Linked DNA regions of Homo sapiens: regions 1 and 2 are each linked to region 3. Evidence: promoter capture Hi-C in human tissues and cell types (Jung and others, 2019). All regions are on one chromosome and are shown on one strand. Each heading gives the region's core, a stretch centred on a gene start or on the middle of the fragment in contact. The rest is flanking DNA. Distances are from core to core; before and after follow the strand shown.

Region 1 (4,346 bases), core at 906-3,405, 290 kb after region 3:
CAAAGGACCAAGGAGAGTTAGAAGGTGCTGGCCTGCACACTTGGAGGGAGATGGTGAAGAGGGCAGCTGGGCCCAGCGATCAGACACATGCTTTCTCCAGAGGGCCAGTTCAACTTCACGCCCCTCCACCCTACCTTCCTGTACCCCAGGGTGGGCGGTAAGACTCCCATTAAACAGATAAACAGATGGAGAAACACCACCCCAAAACATAACAATGATCTCGCAGTGTATACTTGACTTCGCTCATTTATTTATTGTTTTTTTTTTTGTTTGTTTTTGTTTTTGAGACAGGGTTTCAGTCACCCAGGCTGGAGTGCAGTGGTGCGTTCGCGGCTCCTTGCAGCCCCGCCCTCTCGGGCTCAGGTGATCCTCCCATCTCCGCCTCCCGAGTAGGTGGGACTACAGTAGTGTATCAGCACACCCGGCTATTTTTTTTTTTTTTTTTTTTTGTAGAGACAGGGTTTCGCCATGTTGCCTAGGCTGGTCTCCAACCTGGTCTCCTGGGCTCAAGCGATCCGCCCGCCTCGGCCTCCCACAGTGCTGGGATTCCAGGCGTGAGCTACCGCGCCCGGCCTATTTACTTTTCTTACTAAGCTGGGGATCACCGTCGCCCTCGGCTTGGCAGGAAGGCGGGGGTAGGGGAGCGGTGGGAAAGGGGGGTGGGCGACGACTCTGATAGAGGGAAAAGAGGAAGGGAAAGTTGGGGCTTACTGCAGGGCAAGCTCCTTAGGAGAAGGTGGGGAGGAGGAAGGAGGGAGGTCCAGGCCCTTCTTCCATCCCACGTCCTCCACTTCCCAAGGTGCAAGAAGAAAAGAGGTACAGAACACCCAGAGGTGCCCTCGATTCCGTCTTGCACTTGCCCTTCTCCCACCGTCCAGCAATAAAGCGAGAGAAACAAGTGCAGGAAACTGGCCGGCAGTCATGGGAGAAGCCAAAAAGACAGGTGAGCAGCGCGTCCGCCTCCCGCGCACAGGTGAGGGCTCACTTCTGCCTGTCGGCGGCGGCACACACAGGAAAGAGCCAAGCGCGTGCACGCGGGCCCGCCCCTAGGCCTTGCGGCGGCTTCAGCTCAGGCCCTTGCTCTTCCTGGGGCGGCCGCGCTCCGCGGCTTCCCGGGCTGGGCTGCTGTCGCCGCTGTCGGGCCGGCGCCGCACGCGCCACTCCACGCGGTGGTCGGGCTCGAGCACGCGCGGCGTCGCCTGCAGCAGGAACTGGCCGCGGCGCTGGGTGACGCGCACGTCGGCGCGGGGGTAGGTGCCGTACGCGCGCCGCAGCTCCCGGCGCACGAAGTCCGGTAGCTGCAGAGGGGGGCCCCGCGCGCGCTCCACGCGGCCCCAGCGCAGCTCGGTTTGCAGGCTCCCGCCCTCCGGCCACGGCGCCCAGCTCTCGGCCACCGCCGCGGGCGCCTGCAGCGACAGTCCCGAGATGCCGGCGGCGGCGCAGGGCCGGCGCAGGGTCGTGGCGTAGGCCGGAGGGCAGGCCCACCAGGGCGGCGCGGCCTCGGGTGGCGCGGCGGGGCCGTAGAAGCGGTGGTATTCCCGTGGGGCCGCCCACTCGCCCGCATGCAGGCTCCCGGGCCGGCTGCGGAAGCTGTGGGCCTGGACTGGGGGTAGCAGCAGAGGGGCGGCCAGGTAGGTGCAGGTGAGCAGCTGCGGCGGCGGCGGCCAGACGCCCTGTTTGGGCGGCGGCCAGCTGTACACATACATGGTCGGCCCCCCAGGCGGCTGCTGTTCTTACTGGGGGCTCCTGCGGATCCAGACCTGCGGCGGAGGAAGGGATATGTAGACAGACTTTCTACTTAACCGCCTCCTGTCCCTGTGGGCCGGTTCCCCGGGACGCCGGTTCATGGCTTTGGGGGAATTCATCCCAAATCGAACATTCAGCTCCCCGCCTAGCCTCTTGTCCCAAGGTCGGGCAGAGCCTCAGGCTCCCAGCAGACAATAAGGAGCCTTTTCAAGCCCTCCGCCGGGATGCTCTTCCCAGTGACTCCCCACTCACTTGTCTCCTTCAGCCTTGGGGAGCCGGCGGGATCCAGAGCGGGGCTCCTCTCCGCACTTTGTAGCTGCGTTGCTCCGCTCCATGCCCTGCCTCAGCCACTCCTCCTGGTTACCAGGCAAAAGGAAACACCTTGAGCTGGCCAGGAGCTACCAGCGTCTGTCTACACCTGGGTGAGCCGTACTGGTCGTAGTGGCCCCACCCTACAAGGATGCCCTTCCTACAGTATTACTGATGGCTGTCTAATCCGGTTAGCTCCCAGTCACTACACCCCAGCCTCCCAGCGCCTGCAGGTGGATTGGGTTATCCTCACATTTGAGTGAAACTCCTGCACACCAGACACTGAATCGAGTTGTCTGGGAGCATCTAACTGCAAGTTATGTCGATCCGAGGAAGGGGGGTACTGATATTACCCCTGCTTTCCATAGCAAAAAGCTGCTTGCCTCACAGTTGGTGTCCAGTGTATTCAGTGACTGGAGCTTATGTAGGTTAAATAACTCATCCCAACTCACACAGCTGGCTATAGTAAGGGCAAAATTCAACCCCCAGTCTGTCTCAAGACTCAGGCTCACAATGTTGGTCTTATTGCCCACCTGTGCAGGAGCTTCTCGCAGACTGTCTCGAAGTCCTCCCACTCTAGAATGTTACATAAGCGCTTTAATTTTTTTTTTTTTTTTTTTGAGATGGGGTCTTGCTCTGTTGTCTAGGCTGGAGTGCAGCGGCATGATCTCGGCACACTGCAGCCACCGTCTTCCAGGTTCAAGCGATTCTCCCACCTCAGCCTCCCGAGGAGCTGGGATTACAGGTGCACCACCACCTCCTGCTAATTTTTGTAGTTTTAGTAGAGACGGGGTTTTCACTATGTTGGCCAGGCTGGTCCCGAACTCCTGACCTCAGGTGATCCACCCTCCTTGGCTTCCCAAAGTGCTGATTTTACAGGCGTGAGCCATCGCGCCCGGCTGCTTTAAATTCTTTTCTTCCTTTTTTTTTTTTTTTTTTTTGAGACAGAATCTTGCTCTGTCGCCCAGGCTGGAGTGCGGTGGCACGATCTTGGCTTACTGCAACCTCTGCCTCCCAGCTTCAAGCGATTCTTCTGCCTCAGCCTCCCAAGTAGGTGGGACTACAGGCGTGCCCCACCACACCTGGCTAATTTTTGTATTTTTTAGTAGAAATGGCGTTTCACCATATTGGCCAGACTGGTCTTGAACTCCCAACCCCGTGATCCGCCCACCTTGGCCTCCCAAAGTTTTGGGATTACAAGGATGAGCTACTGCGCCCGGCCTACTTTAAATTCTTAATAGCTATGTGAAGTGCATAGTGATGTCATGCTCTTTTAGTAGATAAGGAACCAGAGGCTCAGAGAAGTTAGGCCACTGTCCCAGGTTCACACAGCCTGTAAGTACCACAGTGGAATTTGAACCCAGTCCAACTGATGTCAAAGGCCAGAAGCCATTTGAGTGAAGGCAGGAAGATTGCTTCATCCAGATGGGGTGAGCCCTGTCTGAGTTCCAGTCCCTTCTGGTGTGGGTCACAACCCCTGCACCTCTTCCTTCTCCAGTGGGGAGAGTGGTAGTTATGGATGATTAAAACTGAAACCGTCTCCCAGCTGCAGGGCTGCCATGTTGCCACACTTTCCTTCCCCATCTCCTGTTGACTGAAGCAGTATCACCAGCAGCCCTGACAGAAAGGTTCTTCTGGGTTCTCAGTATCCCTCAAAACTCAGCTACCCTCTGGTGGTGGCCACCATTTGGTGACTCACCCTGGTGATGTCATGCTATTCGTGACTGAGCCACTGCTCCAAGTCTTAATTCGGGCCAGTCCTTTTGAAGGCAGGTGCTGGGGCTGGGCTGTGGATGGAAAAAAGGGGCCTGGTTAGGGTTTCATTTGGACTCTAACACTGTCATAGAAACCCAGATTCAGGCTGGTGAACCTGATGCACAGCTAAGGCCAAACAGTGGGAGATAGAGAAAGGTTTATTTGATTTGGCCAAAGTGAGAAGGCGGGAGAGCAAATCTCTCAAATCCCTATTAACAGAAAAAAAGCAGCAGGGTGGCTTACACCTGTAATCCTAGCACTTTTGGAGGCTGAGGCAGGTGGACTGCTTGAGCTCAGGAGTTCGAGATCAGCCTGGGCAACATGGTGAAACACCGGCTCTACAAAAAAAAAAAAAAAAAAAAACCAGGCATGGTGGCATGTGCCTGTAGTTCCAGTTACTTGGGGCGCTGAGGCAGAATGATCACTTGAGCCCAGGAGGTCAAGCCTGCAGTGAGCTGTGTTCATACCACTGCACTACAGCCTGGGTGGCAGACTGAGAGCCTGTCTCAAAAAGCAGCAGGGAGTTTTTAATGTGA
Region 2 (4,999 bases), core at 2,444-4,943, 470 kb before region 3:
GGCGAGAAATCAAAACACACATGTCTAATAAATAATAAAGCCATATCATTTGGCAATCTCAAAGCATTTTACACCATAAATTCACTTTCTTTTTTTTTGTTGTTATTATTGCTACAGAATGTAGATTCATTCCCAATATCTCTCTTTTAGAGCATTTGAAAATAAACATCAATTCTTTCATTCATTCACTCAATCTCTATATGAAGAGAGAGAAAGCCAAACTTTGCCTTAGCTAGCTTGGGTTACAGTCACTTTAGACTTCTCTTATAGGTTAACTGATAATATTCTTTGAAAGAGTTATTCTCATGAGAAAGGAAGAGAATAAAAAACTATTTCTGCAGGTGACAAGACTGCATGCCCAAGAAGTCCCAAGGAACCATTATCATGAATACAATCATCCTAGAATAAAAAACCATCAAATTCAAAATTTACAAGAGTAGAGTAATCTTCTACATTCAGTAATACCCAGCCAGAAAACATACTGAAGAGAGTGTATTTGCAATAAAAACGAAATGCATAACATTTTCGGAAATACATAGGAGTAAGTGCAACAACAGATATGTAAGAACTTTATCATGAAAACCACAAAAGTCCTTGAAAAAGTACAGAATTTTTTTTTTTGACAGAGAGTTGAACAGAAGTGTAGAAGTGACACACACACATAAATCCAACAGGATAATCTTACCCTGACAGATTACTAGACTCTATCAAAAAGTAACAATATTTAAAATAGTATGGAAATGGAAAACTGTATCAGTGACACACAATGAAGAGTTCAGATATAGATCCAATATACACACATATATGTCTATGTGTATATACATGTGTATATTATATATAATATATATATAAACTTATTATATGGCAAAATAAGCTGTCCAAAACAAAGGAAAAGAGAATTACTTAACAAAGTTGTAGACAACAATAGTAAGTTGAATTCACCTCTTGCACCAAAAGTGATATTGATGAAAGTGTTAACTATTAAAAAATTAAATTAGGCCAGGCGCCATGGCTCATGCCTGTAATCCCAGCACTTTGGGAGGCCGAGGTGGGCAGATAACCTGAGGTCGGCAGTTCGAGACCAACCTGACCAAGATGGAGAAACCCTATCTCTACCAAAAATACAAAATTAGCTGGGTGTGGTGGTGCATGCCTGTAATCCCAGCTACGCAAGAGGCTGAGGCAGGAGAACCGCTTGAACCCAGGAGGTGGTGAGCCGAGTGCACACCACTGCACTCCAGCCCGGGCAACAAGAGTGAAACTCCGTCTCAAAAAAAAAAAAAAAAAAAAAATCAAATTTGTAAGAAAACCAGTGGGAAACAGATTTATCAGGTCTGTGGAGGAATTATAAATTTCTCAGCTTTGGGGAGAAAAAGAGAAAAAAATCACAAAAGACTGGCAGAGCCTAATAAAGTGTAAAACAGTAAAGTAAAATGAATTGACTGGGAAAAATATCTGGATCAAAGATGACAGACTAGATTCTAACATCTAAGACCCACAAAGATTCCAAATTTATAGGAAAAACAAGAAGACCCCAGTAATAAATGGGCAAAGAGTGGGAAGAGACAGTCTCCCAGGTGAAACAAACACATGGGAATATATTTATCCCAGCCAGTGGTAAAAGAGATGCAAAATAACACAACTTTGGTACCTTAAATGACCACTAAAGTGGCAAAGATTTTCTAAATTCTCACATAAAATTTGTTCACTCTGTGCTGGTCCCACTATAATTTGGTACAGCACCTCTGCAAACCATAACCTTTGCTATAATGCCACCTTGAGACTTTATCCTAAGGAACTGATTTTTAAAAAATATGTATGGTAATGACATGTGACTTATATTTCAGTAAAGCTGTTACTCAAAAATGCATTATTTCATTATTATCTATAATAACAAAAAGCTGAACACTACATGTAAGTTTAATAGTAGAGGGATGTTCTTTAATCTCATTATGCGACAGCCCACAAACATTTACTATGTACCTATTCTGTTAGGATCAGTAAGATAGCAATTATATGTGCAACTGAAAAGGTTTTTAAATGAAAATAATTGTCTAGAGGTGATGGTATTATGGCTTTTTATGTTTTTAAAAACGTTATTTAATGTTGTCATAATGTACTAGAAAGAACTACTTTTTAAAAAATGGGTGGAATAGGGGGCAATCTGAAAGCTCTTATTCCCCCAATTCCCTACATGTTTTTTCCTTCCTATTTAACAGTTTAAGTGGTTCAGAAAAGTTTTTCATTCACAGGTCTCAGACCCTACCAAAAACAGGCCAAATTGCAATACCATGTCTTGTACACATCCTGGACAGACTCCAGCCTCCTGCCTCAAGCAGGCCCCCTTTTTCGTGTCGCTCTGCCTATATGAAGTCATAAACTATGGCTGAACACTGGGACCGAGGGCTTCTCTTAAGGTCCGAGCCCTGAAGCTTAACAACCTTTAGAAAAGGGTAGGGAGGATGAAAGATGAAAGTCCACAAAAATTTATGATAGACCACTTAAGGAACCTGAGTCCTAGACCTGGACTCAAGGAATCGTCCAAAGCACCGTACCAGACTGGCTCCTCTGGGGCGAAGGAACCGGGGCAGCTAAACCTCTGCAAAAACACACAATCGAAAGCTGTAGGGAGTGCCTAAGATGGCTAATTGTGAGGAGCGGCCCACCCGGGAGGGTGCCTACTGAGGGATGCTCTCGGGAGGCTGCCTCAGATGGAGGCCTTGGGGAGGAGGGGCAAAGGGGTCCCCGAGAGTGCTCGGGAAAGGGTGTAGGCGGAGGTCAGGTGTAGGCCTAGAAACTCGGGGTGCGACACGACCCTGGGCCGACCAGGCCGCGGCGCCCCGCCCTTTCCCGGGACGCGGGGCCGGCTCGGGGCGGGGAGCGGGCGGGCGAGCGGACGCTTACAGGTCGGTGCCGAGCCGCGTGAAGCCGGAGTTGAGCGAGGCCCGGGCTATCCGGCGCCAGAGCAGATCGCAGCTGGTGAAGCGCCGCAGCCAGCGGCACACCTGGGCCAGGCGGCCGAGGGCCCGCATGTCCAGGTAGGAGCAGATGAGCAGCAGCAGCTCCTCCGGCAGGCGCCAGAGCGCAGGCCCCGCGGCCGGGCGGGCAGCCGACTCCCGAGCCGCCTCCTCCTCCTCCTCCTCCTCCCCGGCCGCCGCCGCCATGGCCACCCCTGTCCCCGCGATGTCGGCCCAAGCCTGACCCCCTCGTCCCTGTGCTCTTCCCGGCCTGGCGCCCTCCCGCCGCCTAGCCCTGACCCTCCATTCCTCCTTCTTCCCATACTCTCTTCCTTGTGCCTCCTTCCCGGCCCCTGCGCTCCCCTCGACTCCCTTGACGATGCCTCTCGCCCCTTCCTCCACGCTTCTGCCTCCCTCTGCTTCCTCCCTTGGGCATGCCCTCGCTCCCGCGTCAGCCCCCGGCCCGGCTGCCTCCTTCGCCGTCTGCGGCCCGGGCTTCCCTTCCGCCCCGCTTCCTCTTCCGCCTTGCCCCGCTCTCGCTTTTCCCTTCCCCTTCCCCTTCCTTCGCTTCCCCCTCGCCACCCTCCCTTCCTGCAGCTTCCTCGCCTCTCCGCCCTCGCCCTCGCCGGGCCCGCCGTTCCCGGGGGGCCCCGAGCGGCCCTGGCTGCCCATGAGCGGCCGCGGGGCCGGCCCGACGCGGAGCCCAGCCCGAGCCGCCACCGCCGCCGCCCCGGGAGGAGGCGACACCATGTCGGACCGGGTCACATGGGGCGGCGCGGGCCGAGCCCTGGGCACGCCCCTCACACCTGCAGCCTTGGAGCCACTTCGGGGTGCGGGCTGGGGCCGGGGCGCTGACACCACCCCCGCATCCCCGAGAGCGCTTGGTGGAAGCACAGGAGTTCGCGCTGCAAACACGTGAGGCCGGTTTCAGGGCCCTGCCTGAGGCCACAAGAGGACCCGCTGCCCTCAGGAAGCGGCCATTTGGAGCACCTGCCCTCAAGAAGCCCCTAGTTGGGTGGCCTTGCCCCTCTAGAAGCCCTCCTCTTCCTCGAGTGATGCCTCCTTTCCACGGGCCACATGTGAGGGCCCAACGAATCTGCAGCCCTAGAAGTTGACAGGTTCCATAGCTTAGGTTCTCACACAGGCCCGGAAGCACGGTCCTGGCGTGAGCTTGGGTGTTAGACGTATTTGGGGATTTGCAGTCTTCTAGATCCTGAGTCCATAACTTCAAAAACAGTCATGTATCAGGAAATGGCACAGCTAGGGCTTCTTATCAGTCACCACCCAAGTGCAAGTGGATTCTCCAAGGACTCAGCATCCATTCTTCATACCACCCATTCGATTCACATGGCATTAATCTGAAGGGAGAGCTACTGAGGTCTAGACCTGTGCTGTCCAACAGTGTCCTCCCTCGTCACATGTGGCTGCTGAGCATTTGAAATGTGGCTAATACAAATTGAAATGAGCTATAAGTGAGAAATGCACACCAGATTTTGAAGCCATACAAAAAAAAGAATGCAAAATATCTCATTAATAATTTTATATTGATTACGTGTTGAAGTGTTAATATTTTGGATACGCTGTATTGGGCTAAATACAATATATTTTAATGTAACTACTAGAAAATTTAAAATTATACATGGGACTTGCATTTGTGGCTCGGGTTATTTTTCTATTAGCATTGGGCTAGGCAGTAAAACTTGGAGGAGGGGAGGAAGATGCCAATTTCTGTCTGTTTATCCTGTACTCCAAATCCAGGTAGGAAGGATTGGAGAGTTTTCTTTTGTACTTATCTACATCTTAACACTCATTTTCAGGGAGCAGGGAAGAATAAAAATTGACCCTGAAAATTATTCAACACCTAGCATAGCCAAAGAGAAACCTAGGGAAGCAACTACATTGTATTATGGTGCTGCAAGAAGCATCATGTAACAAGGTCAGACCGGAATCTGGCTTTGCCCTAGAATTACTTTTTGATCTTAGCAAAACAACAACAAAAAGCCCCACCTATCTTGGCCTTTTAGTGTTCTCAATCTGTAGTG
Region 3 (4,627 bases), core at 1,990-4,489:
GAATGGAGGTTGAAGTGAAAGATTTTAGAGGGCGTATTGAGATTATTTATGTCATCTTTTCTAAGAAGACAGTTTTATTCCTGCCATGGGATAGGAAAGGTATCCTTTGATGTGGTAAACCATGGCTGGCATTCTCCTCGATGGCTGCTCTAAAGTTGAAAGAATTGGTGGACTCCTGGCCAGGCACAGTGGCTCACACCTATAATCCCAGCACTTTGGGAGGCTGAGGCGGGCGGATTGCTTGAGGTCAGGAGTTCAAGACCAGCCTGGCCAACATGGCGAAACCCTGTGTCTACTAAAAATATAAAAATTAGCTGGGCATGGTGGTGGGCACCTGTAATCCCAGCTACTCCAGAGGCTGAGGCGGGAGAGTTGCCTGAACCACTGCACACTAGCCTGTGCAACAGAGCCAGAGCCAGACTCCGTCTCCAAAAAAAAAAAAAAAAAAAAAAAAAAAAATGGTGGACTCCTAAGTTCTCTGCTCATAGGAAGGAGGTTTTTCATGGTCCTGACTTGCCCTAATACTCCTTACTCTTTCTTTTTCTTGGGTATTCCAGCTCGAGCAGCACCTAAAATAGCCAATGGTAAAGCAGCCAGTAGCAGCAGTAGCAGCAGCAGCAGCAGTAGCAGTGATGACTCAGAGGAGGAGAAGGCAGCAGCCACCCCCAAGAAGGTCTGGACCATAACTTCTGTCAGGGCAGAGGTGACCAGGGTGTGATGTGTGTGTGTCTTCCTTCCCTGGCAGGATTGGTTGGGTCAGCATTTTCCTGTGGTAATCAATTTTCTTTCTAATGCAGACTGTACCTAAAAAGCAAGTTGTGGCCAAGGCCCCAGTGAAAGCAGCTACCACCCCTACCCGGAAGAGTTCTAGCAGTGAGGATTCCTCCAGTGACGAGGAAGAGGAGCAAAAAAAACCCATGAAAAATAAACCAGGTGACTGGACATGGGGAGCGAAGCTGTGTGACTGTGGTCAGGGCCCAGCTGCAGTAACCACATGGACCTCTCCATAGAGGTGCATGAGCGTCCTCATGACATGACAGCTAGCTTCTCCGAGCACTAGTGATCCAGGAAAGCAAGGAGAAATCTCCAGTGCCTTGTGTAACCTAGACTCAGAGGTGACACCATGTTCTGTTAGAACTGAGTCATTGATTCTGGCCCATACTCAAGTGAAGGGGAATTAAGCTTCATTTCTACAAGAAAGTAGTATCAAAAAAAGTTGTAGACATATCCTAAAACCATCACACTATCCTTTTTAAACAGGTCCCTACAGTTCAGTCCCCCCGCCTTCTGCTCCCCCACCAAAGAAGTCTCTGGGAACCCAGCCTCCCAAGAAGGCTGTGGAGAAGCAGCAGCCTGTGGAAAGCAGTGAAGACAGCAGTGATGAGTCTGGTGAGTCAGAGGGATGCAGCCTCCCCTCAGCGTGGGTCTGGAGGAGGGGATGAGGAATAAGGGAGAGAGAAAGCCTTCCATCCTTCGGTTGCTTTTTGCTTAAAGCAAGACAGAGCTAAGGCTCTGTGCGTGTCTTTGCATTCTTTTTATTGCTGTCCTGGTTGGGTTGGGACTCTGGACCCAGCATAATGCTACAGGTTCTCCTCAGATTCAAGTTCTGAAGAAGAGAAGAAACCCCCAACTAAGGCAGTAGTCTCTAAAGCAACCACTAAACCACCTCCAGCAAAGAAAGCAGCAGAGAGCTCTTCAGACAGCTCAGGTAAGGCATATGGAGGCCCTCAGTTCAGTGAGATGCTCTCAGGCAGCTGCTAAGGGCTCCCCTGAATCCAATTTGGGGAGCTGTTGATTCCATCCCTTCTGTGTCTAGACTCTGACAGCTCTGAGGATGATGAAGCTCCTTCTAAGCCAGCTGGTACCACCAAGAATTCTTCAAATAAGCCAGCTGTCACCACCAAGTCACCTGCAGTGAAGCCAGCTGCAGCCCCCAAGCAACCTGTGGGCGGTGGCCAGAAGCTTCTGACGAGAAAGGCTGACAGCAGCTCCAGTGAGGAAGAGAGCAGCTCCAGTGAGGAGGAGAAGACAAAGAAGATGGTGGCCACCACTAAGCCCAAGGCGACTGCCAAAGCAGCTCTATCTCTGCCTGCCAAGCAGGCTCCTCAGGGTAGTAGGGACAGCAGCTCTGATTCAGACAGCTCCAGCAGTGAGGAGGAGGAAGAGAAGACATCTAAGTCTGCAGTTAAGAAGAAGCCACAGAAGGTAGCAGGAGGTGCAGCCCCTTCCAAGCCAGCCTCTGCAAAGAAAGGAAAGGCTGAGAGCAGCAACAGTTCTTCTTCTGATGACTCCAGTGAGGAAGAGGAAGAGAAGCTCAAGGGCAAGGGCTCTCCAAGACCACAAGCCCCCAAGGCCAATGGCACCTCTGCACTGACTGCCCAGAATGGAAAAGCAGCTAAGAACAGTGAGGAGGAGGAAGAAGAAAAGAAAAAGGCGGCAGTGGTAGTTTCCAAATCAGGTCTGTACCCAATGAACATGCCCTCTGGGTTTTGTCCCCCCAAATCAGGATGGGATATACTCTTTGAGAGTAGGGTAGTGAGAGGAGGCCCACCACTGGGCTTCCAGTTGTGGAAACTGGGAGGAAGAACAGGAAACTGGTTACCTTTTTTTTTTTTTATTAGAGTCTCACTGTGTCACCCAGACCAGGGTGCAATGGCATGATCACGGCTTGTGCAGCCTTAACCTCATGGACTCAGGTGATCTTTCCACCCCAGCCTCCTGAGTAGCCGGGACTACAAGCATGCACCACCATGTCTGGCTCATTTTTTTAACTTTTTATAGAGACAGAATCTCACTATATTGCCCAGGCTGATCTGAATTTCCTGGGCTCAAGCGATCCTCCTACCTTGGACTCCCAAAATGCTGGGGTTACAGTTGTGAGCCACTGTACTCGGCCTGAGTCTGGCTTTTTGTTTTGTAGGTTCATTAAAGAAGCGGAAGCAGAATGAGGCTGCCAAGGAGGCAGAGACTCCTCAGGCCAAGAAGATAAAGCTTCAGACCCCTAACACATTTCCAAAAAGGAAGAAAGTAAGTTGTCTCACTTTCTTCTCAGGAGCCAGCTCTTTAAAAGTAGAAAAATCTAGGATCATCTTGACAGCTCTGCCTGGCGTGACCTGGTACATGTGCCCATGTGTATCACTCAGGAGAACTGTTACATGACCACTCTGTCTTTAATTTCCTACTTCATTCTTCTGTAGGGAGAAAAAAGGGCATCATCCCCATTCCGAAGGGTCAGGGAGGAGGAAATTGAGGTGGATTCACGAGTTGCGGACAACTCCTTTGATGCCAAGGTGAGAGAGAGATCTGTGCCATTCTTGGGAGGGAGGATGGGTAGTGTCAGAGAGGACAATTCTTGGTTCAGGTTGGTGGGAATCTTCTCTGGGTTCAGGTTTCCTTGAGCAGGGAGTAGAAAGAATAAAGTGACAGGGCTCCAGCATGGTCCTCCTCTGTGTTAATCTCCCTCTCTACTTACCAGCGAGGTGCAGCCGGAGACTGGGGAGAGCGAGCCAATCAGGTTTTGAAGTTCACCAAAGGCAAGTCCTTTCGGCATGAGAAAACCAAGAAGAAGCGGGGCAGCTACCGGGGAGGCTCAATCTCTGTCCAGGTCAATTCTATTAAGTTTGACAGCGAGTGACCTGAGGCCATCTTCGGTGAAGCAAGGGTGATGATCGGAGACTACTTACTTTCTCCAGTGGACCTGGGAACCCTCAGGTCTCTAGGTGAGGGTCTTGATGAGGACAGAAGTTTAGAGTAGGTCCTAAGACTTTACAGTGTAACATCCTCTCTGGTCCTTTTCTGTGTTCCTAGTTTTGTACAGACTTGTTTTTGAGTGTTGAGTAGCAGGGACAAAATAAGGGAATGTTATTTTTTAAGAAAATTCATTTTCATTGTTGTCTCCTTCCTTTTCTGTGAAAGTCCTCATACTGAGAAATTTGTATATTTTATATTAAATCACTTACTATTGATTTTTGTTGTGATTTTCAAAGGTGGATTCCCACAGATAAAATCTTGGCTATTGCCCAAAACATAGTAAAGGGTCACGTGTGACTTTTTATAATAGGAAGAAAATTCTGCCTTTGTGAGTGCACATGTCCACATTTCATCCCTCCTTCCCTCAAAACCCTAGAGAGGGGCATTAAAGAATTGTTGATGTATATGCAATGTCTGTTAAGCATGCACTATGTATTTCATCCTCATTTATTGGGTCTGGGACTGAAGTTTTTAGCCAGCATGGACCTAACCTACTTTTTGGGATAAAATTCTCTGTTTTGTTACAGGCAAAATTCTGGTATGGCGTGAATGCCATGGGTCATTCTGAATATATTTTTTTCTGTAATTTTATCATTACACGATGTTTGCAATACGTGCTTTGTTTTTTAATTTGAAAGCAAACTTTTCTACTGTTGAAAGACATTTTTTGACAACTTGACCCTTCCTAGTATTGAGTTCTAAGTTGAGGACTGCATCTTCTCGTTTTTTACAGTATAGAGAACAAAATGACATGAGTTTGAAAAATACATATCACTTGGTATTGCTGTCTTGGTTGCAGTGGTGATACAGAATTGGTTTCATTAATTCCTACATGGTTGAGAATCACTGATCAAGAAAGTGGGGGGAAAAAAAACAA

The links. Contacts are between HindIII fragments. The study calls those that stand out against the background at their distance.
Region 1: the fragment with the promoter of C10orf95 here is called in contact with a fragment that was not itself captured in region 3 in 1 of the 25 tissues and cell types used here (dorsolateral prefrontal cortex).
Region 2: the fragment with the promoter of FBXW4 here is called in contact with a fragment that was not itself captured in region 3 in 1 of the 25 tissues and cell types used here (liver).

What each region holds. Positions count from the first base shown.
Region 1 is chr10:102,449,388-102,453,733 of GRCh38, forward strand. C10orf95 (chromosome 10 open reading frame 95) reads right to left here and starts at 2,156. Exons shown (of 2, transcript NM_001363580.1): 1 at 1,999-2,156; 2 at 450-1,760. The coding sequence starts at 1,706. The coding sequence ends at 1,065. It overlaps C10orf95-AS1 (C10orf95 antisense RNA 1), which reads left to right and starts at 430. Exons shown (of 3, transcript NR_038938.1): 1 at 430-635; 2 at 800-943. RefSeq lists silencers at 991-1,070, 1,111-1,600 and an enhancer at 2,123-2,805. The HindIII fragment of the contact is 10,367 bases long and covers 490-4,346 here.
Region 2 is chr10:101,691,477-101,696,475 of GRCh38, forward strand. It overlaps FBXW4 (F-box and WD repeat domain containing 4), which reads right to left and starts at 3,694. Exons shown (of 9, transcript NM_022039.4): 1 at 2,905-3,694. The coding sequence starts at 3,629. RefSeq lists an enhancer at 2,374-2,453 and silencers at 2,764-3,223, 3,504-3,553, 3,584-3,863. The HindIII fragment of the contact is 7,927 bases long and covers 721-4,999 here.
Region 3 is chr10:102,158,636-102,163,262 of GRCh38, forward strand. It overlaps NOLC1 (nucleolar and coiled-body phosphoprotein 1), which reads left to right. Exons shown (of 13, transcript NM_004741.5): 6 at 558-673; 7 at 798-933; 8 at 1,261-1,389; 9 at 1,598-1,708; 10 at 1,817-2,458; 11 at 2,921-3,027; 12 at 3,198-3,290; 13 at 3,476-4,627. The coding sequence ends at 3,634. Among named protein-coding and RNA genes, the nearest start is that of NOLC1, 8.6 kb to the left of the region's middle. The HindIII fragment of the contact is 5,920 bases long and covers 280-4,627 here.